Linked DNA regions of Homo sapiens: region 1 is linked to region 2. Evidence: promoter capture Hi-C in 16 types of primary human blood cells and fetal thymus (Javierre and others, 2016). All regions are on one chromosome and are shown on one strand. Each heading gives the region's core, a stretch centred on a gene start or on the middle of the fragment in contact. The rest is flanking DNA. Distances are from core to core; before and after follow the strand shown. Region 1 overlaps DCAF8 (DDB1 and CUL4 associated factor 8). Region 2 holds the start of IGSF9 (immunoglobulin superfamily member 9).

Region 1 (5,945 bases), core at 3,243-5,742, 310 kb before region 2:
ATCTTAGAACGGTCCCATTTGGTCCCTGTTAGTTGGAAAGCATCTGGTGGCTTGAATTTCTGACTCATGATTGTTACTGGAGTCTCTGTAAACAAACCGGCACTAGCGCTATCACATTCTCTCCGGGATTTCCCCCCCTGCTCTGTGGCTTCTTGTTGAGAGGTTGTTTGGTTATGGTTTAGCGTTGAAAAGATTCAGGTTATCCTTTTAAATGACTTTACGTTTTAGTGGAGCTGGGAGATTACTTGCCTGGCTTCTAATCTTCATGTTGGTTCATTTTATTTCCATATGTGTGTGGGTTATTTGTTCAGTAATTAGAATTAGATAAAGTATTCTGCTTTTAAGTAGTTTTGAGAAGGCCTAAAAATACTAAAGTGTATTCATAAATATTTTTATTATGTTCAGTAGAAGACACACCTTTGCCATGTAAATTTTAACTTTTCTCAGTCCTTCAGTGAATCTACAGACCTATTTTCTCAGGAGCTCAGCCTGGCCTTACTTCAGTGATAAAAGGAGGAAAGGTGAGTGGGAGTTGGAGGCATTAAAATTCTTGAGTTCAAGACAGACTGCGCTGATGCTCAACTGCTGACCACTAAAGTCATAAAATTCCTACCAGTTTCCCAAAGAGCTTGAGTGTTGTTCTTGGCTTTGTTCCAGCTCTGGTTGAATTACTTTTACAAGTTTAATTGTCTGTGGGCTTCTTGTCTTTCTGTCCTAAACTATTGCTGTGTATCTCCAAATGACTTAAGCCTAGAAGTGAATGTGTGCCCCCTGCCCCATGTCTTCTTTTCTTCTTTATTCATTTTCCTTGTATTTTGTCTTTGTGTCGATCATATTTTTTACGTTGTTAAAAACTGGAACTTAGTTTGCCTGAGTTCTGTTCATCCTGTTGTCAAATCAGGTCTCTTCCCCTCTCACAGCTTCGGGTTGTCATCCCTTGGTATTTAGAGGAGAATATTTAGCTGCTTGTGACTAAAAGCTGGGGAGTGATGAGTGATGCTGCCTTTAGTTGGTGTCTGAGTCCAGTCTATTTCAGAATTCCGACTTTTTAGGATATAGTGGGAAATTTTTTGTAAAAAAAAAAAAAAAATAGTGGCTGCTCTTTCTTTTGTAGCTGGTCTGAAGAATTCTTGGTTAGCAGAAGAAACATCCTGGGCATTCAGCAGCATGGGTTGGTGCCAAAAAGGGAGTCAGAACATACTTATAAATGCAGTTTTCGTGAGGCTTTCAGGTTTCTGGTAGCAGAGACTAGAGGCTCATGGCATGTGACAGAAAAGCTAAGTGACTGGAAGGTAGGCCTGGCCAATTCCTAATATCTTTATGATTTGTAGTAGGAAAATATTGAGTGACACTGGTGAGTTTTATTCCATCTGATGACTGAATTAGAAAATGCTCATCATGGACTGGAATAAAATTATTAGTGATGGTGTATATGTGTATCAGTAAGATATAAAGAGAAAAGTACAGTCTTTAGAGATTGGACAGACTTTTAATTTAATTTTAAGGTTTAAATACTAGACTAATATTTCTTAGCCATGTGACCTTGAGCAAGTTACTTAAACTTCTCTGACTCTTAATTTCCACAACTCTAAAAGTGTGATAATACCACTTACCTCCCAGGGTCATTGTTAGTATTATAGGGAATCTATTTAAAGCTCTTAGTAATCTAAGAACACGTGGTACACACTCAAAAAATGTTGTTTTTTGGTTTTTTTTTTTTGCACATCATTGATACAGCTTTGAATAAGTTATACGTTAATTTATGCTTCTTTTACATTTTGCCTTAGAACACATTTTTCTGGTTAATTTTCCCAACTGATTTTTAATTGGTCAGCTTAGACGTGTCCTTTGTAAGTGCCCACCTAGAGTTGTCTTCTGAACATGAAACCCTTGGTGGGGGTTCATAACCAGAGGACAGAGAATATTAGATATTGGTGTATGTATATTTCAAAATGTATTCTTAAACATCAGTAAATTTTTTTGTTCATTGGTTCCTTCATCTTGGACTCTCTGTTAGCACACCTGATCAGAGTTGGCCGTGTTGTAATTCTTTCCCTCTCTGCTGCAATGTTGTTTACTTCTACTGCAACTATTCTTTATACTTTCCTTTTTTGCCATGAAGGGAATACATTTTTTCCTTCTTGTTGGGCTATACAGTGATCCTCATCAACAAATTATCAAAGAACTGTATGAGGAAAAGGTCTCTTTTTTTAAAAGTGAATCAGGGCTGGGGAGTTAGGAATGAAGAGGTTTTTTTTGTTTGTTTGTTTGTTTTTTGACGAGTCTTGCTCTGTCACCAGGCTGGGGTGCTGTGGCGCGATCTCAGCCCACTGCAACCTCCGACTCCCTGGTTCAAGCGATTCTCCTGCCTCAACCTCCCGAGTAGCTGGGATTACAGGCATGCGCCACCATGCCCAGCTAATTTTTGTATTTTTAGTAGAGGAGGGGTTTCACCATGTTGGCCAGGGTGGTCTCAATCTCCTGACCTTGTGATCTGCCCGCCTCAGCCTCCCAAAGTGCTAGGATTACAGGTGTGAACCACCATGCCCGGCCAAAGAGTTCTTTTTTCAGCTCCACAGCTGGACCGTCTTAATAATATGACAGCACAGATGAAGAGTTTTAAACCTTTTGTTGGCTTTTCTTTCGTATCTTTTTGGCAAGGGCACATGAAAATTAAGTACTGATAATATCACAATGAAAGCAGCTGTGTCATTCAGACCAGTGACCATTTTAGGTTTGATGAACTTTTCATTACCATCATCCAGGGTCTAAATTCTCCATTGTAAGGTAAGGATTCTCCAGGGTGGTGGTGAGGTGGGTTGAGATTGCATTTGTATCATTTGTGTTTTTATGAACTCTGAAGATCCATGTCGGGTGAAGGAAAGGATGGGAGGAGAAAAGGAAATACTTTGAAAGAGGGATAACTTGGACTGTTTATTTCCTTATGTGCTGGGTAAGAATGTCCAGGTGACATCTATATGTAGTAAATCAGTATTTCTAGTCTGTGGACCACACTGTAAACTTTTTATCTTTCTAAAGTTTTTTTTATTTTTGTAGAGATAGGGTCTCACTTTGTTGCCTAGGCTGGTCTCAAACTCCTGGGCTCAAGTGATCTTCCCACCTCAGCTGAGTAGCTGGGACCGCAGGGGCATATCACCATACCTAGCTAATTTTTGGTTGTTTTTTTTTTGTTTGTTTGTTTTTTTAAAGAGATGAGGTCTTACTTGCCCGGCTCAAGTGATGCTCCCATCTTGGCCTCCCAAAGTGCTGGGATTACAGGCATAGCCGCAGCACCCAGCTTGAAGATATTTTTATATTTCCAGGGTTTTAGGTGTTTACTTAAGAATTGTGACATCTTATTAGGTAGTATTTCCTAGGATGATTAGAGTGGGAGGCTAAGAATGCTTGTGACCTTTTAGTTCCCACCACCAACCTCTTAAAGTGCAGTCTATTTATTTATTTTTGAAATAGGATCTCACTCTGTCACCTAGAGTGCAGTGGCACTATCATGGCTCACTGCAACCTCGACCTCTTGGGCTTAGGTGATTCTCCCATCTCAGCCTCTCGAGTAGCTGGGACTACAGGTGCACGCCACCGTACCTGGCTAATTTTTGTATTTTTTGTAAAGATGAGGTTTCACCATATTGCCCAGGCTGGTTTCAAACCCCTGGGCTCAAGCAATCCTCCTGCCTCAGCCTCCCAGAGTGCTGGGATTACAGGCGTGAGCCACTGCACCCTGCTAAATGCAGTCAATTAAATGTATAAGAATCTGCCAGGCTGAGTGCGGCTGGCTCATGGCTGTAATCCCAGCACTTTTGGGAGGCCAAGGTGGGAGGATCACTTGATCCTAGTTGTTCAAGTCCAGCCTAGGCAATATTGAGACCTTGTCTCTACAAAAAGTTTAAAAAAAAAGCCAAGCATGGGGCAAGTACTTGCAGTCCCATCTCCTTGGGAGGCTGAGGTGGGAGGATTGTTTGAGTCCAGGAGGTAGAGCTGAGATTGCGCAGTGATCACTGCAGTGCGCTGAGATTGCGCCTCTGCAGTTTAGTATGGGCAACAGAGCGAGACCTAGTCTCAAAAAAAAGAATCAGTTCCAGTGCCATGGTCCTTAGTGTGGAGTAGGACCAACCTAAGACAGAAGCTTGTCTACAGAGAGCTGAAAGAAAGCAGCCTCTTTGTTGCCAGTTTAAAACAATACTGGCATTTTAAAAGCAAACAGATTCTAGTAGGAGACATTGTATAGAAGCGCACCCTGTTGTGAAAGACTGGGATCTTGAGTTTCGTGCTCTAAGTCTTGTATTCTATCAGGGGAGTAATAGGCTTTTAAAATCATAAAGTGACTATTAAAATGCTTTCAGTAGATAGATTCATTACTCCATTATTTCTACTGTATAAAAGTTTATTCTAAACATGTCTAGGAAATATCCAGATTATAAAAGAGAAATAACGGTATCCAAACCAGACTTTTTATTGCATAACATTGGTGTTAGAGTTAGTTTTTAAGTCTCTGAGATTGAATTAGCTTTTTTTTTTTTTAAAGCAGATTATCAGTGAGCTAAGATAATCTGCTGTTTACCCTCACCTATTTGGAACACAGGCAACTGAATTAATTGAATCAGCAATAGGCATGGGGTAGTGACTTTGTATATTTTCATTTTAGAGCCAAAAGCCAGTGAGTTTTAGATTAGCTTTATAGTAATATTAAAAACTTCATCTTTTATTTTTACAAATGTAGCCAAGAAACATCATTGCTGTTAAAATCAGTCAGAAAAGGAGGCTACTTGCTCTTTATTGATTTAGTCATTCTGCTCTTGGAGTGAGTAGAAAGTCTTTGAAAGCTTTTCAAAAATTAGCGAGTGATGAATTTTATGAATTAGTCACTTCTTTGCAGCAGTTTTTTTTTATCTCTACCTCTGTAGGACATAGTTCCTGGGCCAGAAGCCAGATTTCTCAAGTACCATCTAACCCCAGGAATGTGTTATGATACAGATAAATTAATGAACGGAGGCTGCCTTGAGGTTGCCAATAGGGCATTGGGGAGTAATTAATATGACAAAGATGTCATCTTATTAATGAAATGTATTAATAGTATGTCTAGTGGATTGGGTCAATGCAAACATTTTAGATTAGATATTTGCTGTTTATCCTCTGAAGTTACTGTTTAAGGAAGTCTGGCCAAGTTCTAAAGTGAAGCATACATATTTGCCTCACGTGCCATTTTTTTTTTTCTTCCTGGCTTTTTCTTAGCCATCTGGAAAGCTACTATAGGGTTTACCTCTAATGGTAGTCAAGTTACTGTATTCCTCTGGTGTACTTTAATGATTGCCACATTACCAGGTATGTTTTGTTAACCTTACTTAGAATCCAACATTAGACCCTTTCTTCTAACCTAACCTGTAGGAAGGCACTTCTTGAGGTTTTAAGCCTCTCTTTAATGTTTTATTGTAAGTTGTACCTTGGGAGCATCATTTTTTCATCTTAAATCCTCTCCAGTTTAAGAAAAATTTGAAATATAAATGGCAAAAACTGTTAATGGCAACAGACTTCTGATGTAAATGTAAATTGAGATGGAAACAAAATGAAAAGTAGATTTCCCTAGGAATTAGTTAAACTGAGATAAATGGTCCTGGATGTTTTTATAGAAAGTTCTCTTAGCCAGGTGCAGTGGCATGTACCTGTAATCCCAACTACTCGGGGGGCTGAGTTGGGAGGACTGCTTGAGCCCAGGAGTTTCAGGCTGGCAACATAGCAAGACCTTGTCTCTTAAAAAAAAAAAAAAAAAAAAAAAAAAAAGTTTGCTTAGTTCTGCTGCTGGAAATTAACACTTAAGGGTTAGAGTGCATTCCTGACATAGTCTGAAATACTGTTATTAGAATTAAAGCCAGAGGCCATGCACGGTGGCTTACATCTGTAATCCCAGCATTTTGGGAGGCTGAGACGGGCGG
Region 2 (5,854 bases), core at 3,231-5,730:
CTGGCACAGGACCACCCAGGAGGAGAGTCTTGAGAGCGGCGTGGGGCAGGGCTGGAAGCCAAGAGTAGGGGTCTCCCTAGGTATTTGTGCAGGAGATGGAGCCCCTTGGGGCTTGGGAAGGAGGTAGTAAGGTTGGGAAACCAGCCCCAAGAGCTCCTAGTGCTGGTAAACTGGTCCCCTCTACTTTCTGAGGGCCTGAACCCTTGTCCCTCTGGAAGGCAGTCCCTTCTTGAGGCTGGTTCTCTGGGCTTCCCTTAGGCCCTGAGCAGTCTTGCTTCCAAAAAAGGCCAGCAGCCCCCAATCCCTTTGATTCCTTTTATATCTTTCCTAGGAGGCACCACTGCAGGGATGGGGACTGACTGGAAAGGCCACCTTGAGTCCATCTTGCACATAAAGAGGCAGCTCATTTCTCATGTTATTGCAGGATTGAATTCATAGAAAGTAAACAAAAGGATGAATAAATAAAGGAATGAATGTATGATAGGCCCAGGGATTTCCCTGGAAGTTGGCAAAGTTCCTTCTTCTTACAGCCGATCTCTGAGCAGAGAAGGGTTGAGGCCTCAAAAGAGGCCGAGCTTCTGGAAGAGGAAGGATGAGATCTTAAAGAAAGTTGAATATAAACTCAGAGAGGCACAAGCCGCTACCTCTGCAATATGCCAGGAACTTGGCAAGCACTGGGGAGGCAGAAGAGACACCTCTGCCTTCAAGGAATGTTTTGTGGAGTGTGTAAAGATACAATAACAAGGTAGGAAAAGGGCTGGGGTGAAGGTGAGGGCGTGGTGGGAAAAGTCACGGAATGTGTCCTGAAGGGAACAGATCAACAGAAATTTGACCTGTGGCCAGCAGTGAGTCTGGAAAGGAGAAAAGGGCATTCTATCGAGACAGAAGCTAAGTGCTAAGACACTGGTATGTGAAAGAGCACAGTAGTTCTAAGGCCTGCAAAGTCATGCACACTGCGATAAAGGGATAAGTGAGAAACCAGGCTGGAAAAGTAAGCAGGGCCTTTCTGAAGCAGGAATTCAAAGACAAACAGGACAATATCCACACCCTTGTGGGGCTAAGTGTTTCATTGGGATAGAAGATAGGCACACAAAAAGTTAAATGACAATATATGAGAAACCGCACTTCTTTACGGATCTGGTAATAAGACTGCTGCTTACAGGCATGTGGTCAACAGAGTCCCTGGATGACAATCTTTTCTTTTCTTTTTTAACTCAGATATAACTTAATATATGCCTGATTAACAACATCCCTATTATCGATTATTAAAGCCACCCTTTCTATTCTAGAATATGGGATAGTTATGTGGTGCTTAATTGGTACAAGCAATGTTAACACATCAAATGTGGTCACTACTAAAAGCCCATGTGTTCCACCTTTCAGGGTTCATTTGATATCAAGTAATTCTCTGCTTATCTATAGACAATGAGAAACTTTGCTGATTAGGAACACCTGTGCTTAACGATGCCAAGCAGACATCTCTGAGGTCACACCATCTTCTTTGTGCAGGGCTATGGAGCAGCTCAGGTCCTTTCTTCCCAAGGCCTGCTGAAATATTAGGTATACACCAGGAAGACAGAACCAATAAGATAGATAGATACAGATATAGAAATATGAGATGGGATTTATTAGGGGAATTGGCTTACATGATGGTGGAGGCCAAGTCCTACAACATGCACAAAGAAGGCCCTGGGATGGCAAAAGTGTGGCTCAGTCCAACTCCAAAAGCCTCACAACCAGGGAGGCCAATGGTATAACTCACAGTCCCAAGTCTGGAGAGCCTGGAGTTTTGATGTTCAAAGGCAAGAGGAGGAGAATACCCCAGCTCTGAGAGACAGAGAGAGAGACAGAGAGAGAAAAGAAGAAGAAGGAGAAGGAGGAGGAGGAGGAGGAGGAGGAGGAGGAAAAGCAGCAGCAGAGGAGGAGGAGGAGAAGGAGGAGGAGGAGGAAAGAGGAAAGAAGAAAGCAGGAGAAGGAGAAGAAGGAGGAAGAAGAGGAGGAGGAGGAGGAGGGGGAGAGAGAGAATATTTTCTGATATCCTTGTCAGCAATTTGAAAATATGGGGGCTGCCTGATACTTAGGTTAGGTGGAATCCTCGTTGGTTGAATAAGCTTTCCCAGAGAGTAATGACTATGAATCAAGGACAACCTAGAGGAAAGTCTTTTGTTTTGAACCTCAGGGACTATTTTTTAAATCAGCTTTCACTCCTGGCACAGTGAGGGAACAAGTTATAGGGCTAGGTTCCTTTTCTTAACAAAAAATCTCCAATATACATATAAATCAGACAAAAAATGGCAATAACAATAAAAGTCACAAAATAAGTTTCCAGAAAAAAAAGGCCATATCATAAACTTTTAAAAATTGAAAACCATTTTAAATGTCATTTAACAGAAAGTTATTTTAATGTCTAAATGAGATTAGTTTATCCTCAAGAAACCACTGGAGACAGCAGTTTAGATCAAAGGTGTGGCCAATTCTAACAGCGGGGAGGGAGATCCTTCCCAATGATTGGTAAAGATCCAAAGACTAAAAAACACTTGGCTCGGCCGGGGGCAGTGGCTCACACCTGTAATCCCAGCATTTTGGGAGGCCGAGGTGGGTGGATCATGAGGTCAGGAGTTCAAGACCAGCCTGGTCAAGATGGTGAAACCCCATCTCTACTAAAAATACAAAAATTAGCCAGGCATGGTGGTGGCCGCCTGTAATCACAGCTGCTTGGGAGGCTGAAGCAGGAGAATCGCTTGAACCCGGGAGGTGGAGGTTGCAGTGAGCCGAGATTGCACCACTGCACTCCAGCCTGGGCGATAGAGTGAGACTCTGTCAAAACAAAAAAACAAACAAACAAAAAACCCGCTTCACTCTTTTACCATTTCTTCTAGCCTTGCTTCCATGCTGCATTCATTAACATGTTTCCATTATAGTCTTATCAATAGATCAGGGTATTATGTTGAAATGCATTGTTGAAAAGCTGCTACTTTGGGACTATTTGCAGGAGGGATGGTGGGAGAGACTGGCCCACTGCTCCTGCCTCTTCCCTTCCATCTCAGTCACCCAAAAGCACTAAAACCTTTACACCTGGAAGAACTGTCCAGCAGGCAGAGCTTACTAAGGATGGAATGGGTACAACAGTAGTGCTGAGCTTCCTGGCCCAGGATGTAATGAGATAGGGGCTTGGATGACTACATGGAGAAATGATGTGCCAGGGATTCTGGGGCCAAGTAGTGCTTAGGCCCATCCTGGAGGTTCTCTCATGATGCTGCAGCAGTGATTCTGTGAGTCTGATGCCTGGTGCACTCAGTTTGAGTCTTAGTACTTCGGATTGGGATGAGATCAGCACGTTGCTTTCATGGAAGGCTTCCAAGGGAGCCAACTGAATGGGAAGGACCTGGACAGGCAATGTTGCTTAAGCCGACCCAGCATCCCTACAGCATCACCAGGCTGAGGAGGTGGAATCTCTGAGGGGCAAGATATGCAAGATATCTTTGTGTCTGAGGGCGAAGCCTCCAAGGGAGTAGGTTTGATGAAGTTTGGGTTGGGTCTCAATCCAGCTCTGCCATAACCTAGTTGGGAAAGCTTGGGCCAAGTTACTTCATCTCCCTGAGCCTCAGTTTTCTCATTAGTCAAAGGGAGCTCTACTTACTTCGCAGGGTTTCTGTGAAGGTTACACAAGAGTTATAAAGCATCTAGTCCAGGGTCTGGCACCCTGCATGGGTCCAGTAAGTGATCTTGTATTTCATTCCTCCCTTTCAATCTCCCGTGTCAGGATATCTGTCGTTTCTCCCCTCTGGGCCTGTTTCTCTGGGTCGTTGGTGCCAGAGCTGCCTTGGGAGCTGACTTGGCAACCCCACGCTCAGAGCACAGCCTTCCTCAGCTGCACACGGTGGGAGGCGCCTGGGCAAGATTTGGGAGCTCGCCAATGCAGACAGGTATTTCCAGTCCTGCTAGAGAAGCAATGGGTGGAGGTAGAAATGGGGATGGGGGAGGAGATCGGATGAGCCCGGGACCTGGGTGGATCCCCTGGGAGGAGGGCGGGGAGTCATGCTCCCCGCCTGGTTCTCCTACCCCCAGGCTCAGATTTCAACCCTCGCTGCCGCCTCTGTGGCGCGCCCGTTCGGGGAGCGGAGAGGGTCGCCCGTAGGTTCCGAAAGAAGGACGGCGTACCAGTAGCCTGGCAAGGGGCCAGCTCCCGCAGCCCTGGAGCGCGAGCCGGACCCTGCTGCCCCTCTTGCTGGCGGCGGGAAGCGGCCCACCGGCCTTTCCACGCTTGGCTGTGCAGAGGTCCACGAGGGGGCGACCTGAGCCCACGTGCAGCCGAGCTCTTCCCTCCTGAAACTACAACTCCCAGGCCGCTCAGGGGTCCCGCCCGCCTCGCCGTGCCTCTGGCGGCTCCAATTGGCCGCCGCGGGAGGGGGATTGGCGGTCTCCAGGGCGACGGGAGGCGCTCGGGGCATCCGAGGCGGGGAGGCGGGTCCGCCCCCTATTGTGTAGCGGCGAGAGTGGAGCCGAGCGGTGCGGAGCAGGTGAGGGAGGGGGCGTACTGGAGGTATAGAAGTGGTGGTGCTGGTAGTGCGGAGTTATGGGGGACAGGAGAAAGCGGGGAGTTCTAGAGAGAAGTGGAATTCGTTGCAGGAGTAGAACTAGGGGAGTTCTGGGGAGTGAAGTGGAATTCTTGGCGGGTGGGTGGGAGTTCCCGGAGAACTGCAGGAGTTCTGGAGGCAATGTGGGGGAGTTCTTGGTGGGTTCTAAGAGAAAGGAGGAGTTCCAGGGGACCAGAGAATGCGAGGGAGAAAGGAATTGTTGGGGGTGGGGTATCAGAATTGTATTGTGGGCTGATGCAGGAGAATCCCAGGGAGGGGAATTATCGGGAGGAGAGGATGGGGAGAAGTGGCTGGGGGGTGGGGAGACCAGAAGGGAGTTCTTTATAGTGCAGGAGACCTGCTGCAATTGGAGATCAGGTGCGAGAAGCTGGAATTGTGGGGGGATTGTGCGTAGTAGCGATAACTGGGAAGGGAGTAATGGGAGGACGAGGGAGTGGTGTGTGGGGAGACTAGAAGGGTGAGGAAATAGTGGAGGCCGGGGGAGTTGGAAAGATATTAAGAGACTGGGAGGAATTCTAGGGATGCCTAGTTACTCAGAGTCTCGGAAAACAACCAGGAGAGAACTAGGGGGTTCCTATATACTTGGAAAAAGGTTTTTCAGGGAAGTGTGGGAGAGCTGCCTGGAGGCAGTGGGAAACAGGGGGCTTGGTTGCTAGTGAATTGCCAGAAGTTAGACATACAGGATCATTAAGTAGAGGCAAGGATCAGACTCTGTGGAGGATGTTTTATAGTCTGTCCTGAACTTTGCGGCCAAGAGTGGGTTGGAGGACTCAGAGCAGAGTCCACTTGGCAGTGCCAGGCCCTGGCATGGACCCTCTGGCTCTCTGAGACTGCCCTAGGATCTGTGGGGCTGTCAGAAGCTCCTACCCTCCATGCCCCAGGGTTAATTTTGTACACTTCAGGGACTCACAGGCTTTTTTTTGGACCATGCCTCTGGGGTTGGGGAAGAAAGAGCTTGACAAACCCTGGCACCCCGAAGATATTGGAGGGGAGTGAGTGGGAGGGATTTGGGTGAGGTCCTTGGGTGGTGGTGCCTGGCAGGGGGAGGGCTGCTTGGCAGTATCGTGAGGAAGTGGCGCCAGCTGCCAGCCCCGGGACCTGTCCAGACCTGGAGGATGCTGCCTGGATCCCCCATACTGGCAGGTGGGGGAGGCAGCTCCTCCTCTCCCAAGTGCCTGACTCACTCACTGCCAAAGCAGTGTAGGGAGACTGAATGGAGAAAGGCCTCGGGTCCTCAGCTTCCAGAGTTTTTCATA

What was found. The method cuts DNA at HindIII sites, captures the fragments that hold promoters and counts their contacts. A CHiCAGO score of 5 or more calls a contact.
Region 1: a contact is called between a fragment that was not itself captured here and the fragment with the promoter of IGSF9 in region 2, in 1 of 17 cell types (naive CD4 T cells). The highest score is 5.8, in naive CD4 T cells.

What each region holds. Positions count from the first base shown.
Region 1 is chr1:160,255,861-160,261,805 of GRCh38, reverse strand. It overlaps DCAF8 (DDB1 and CUL4 associated factor 8), which reads left to right. Exons shown (of 14, transcript NM_015726.4): 2 at 448-521. It overlaps DCAF8-DT (DCAF8 divergent transcript), which reads right to left and starts at 57. Exons shown (of 2, transcript NR_147618.1): 1 at 1-57. RefSeq lists enhancers at 73-202, 1-322. The HindIII fragment of the contact is 697 bases long and covers 4,144-4,840 here.
Region 2 is chr1:159,944,239-159,950,092 of GRCh38, reverse strand. IGSF9 (immunoglobulin superfamily member 9) reads left to right here and starts at 4,480. Exons shown (of 21, transcript NM_001135050.2): 1 at 4,480-4,520. LOC124904438 (a long non-coding RNA gene) reads right to left here. Exons shown (of 3, transcript XR_007066684.1): 2 at 3,641-3,941. RefSeq lists an enhancer at 3,857-4,357 and a silencer at 4,200-4,494. The HindIII fragment of the contact is 10,806 bases long and covers 3,576-5,854 here.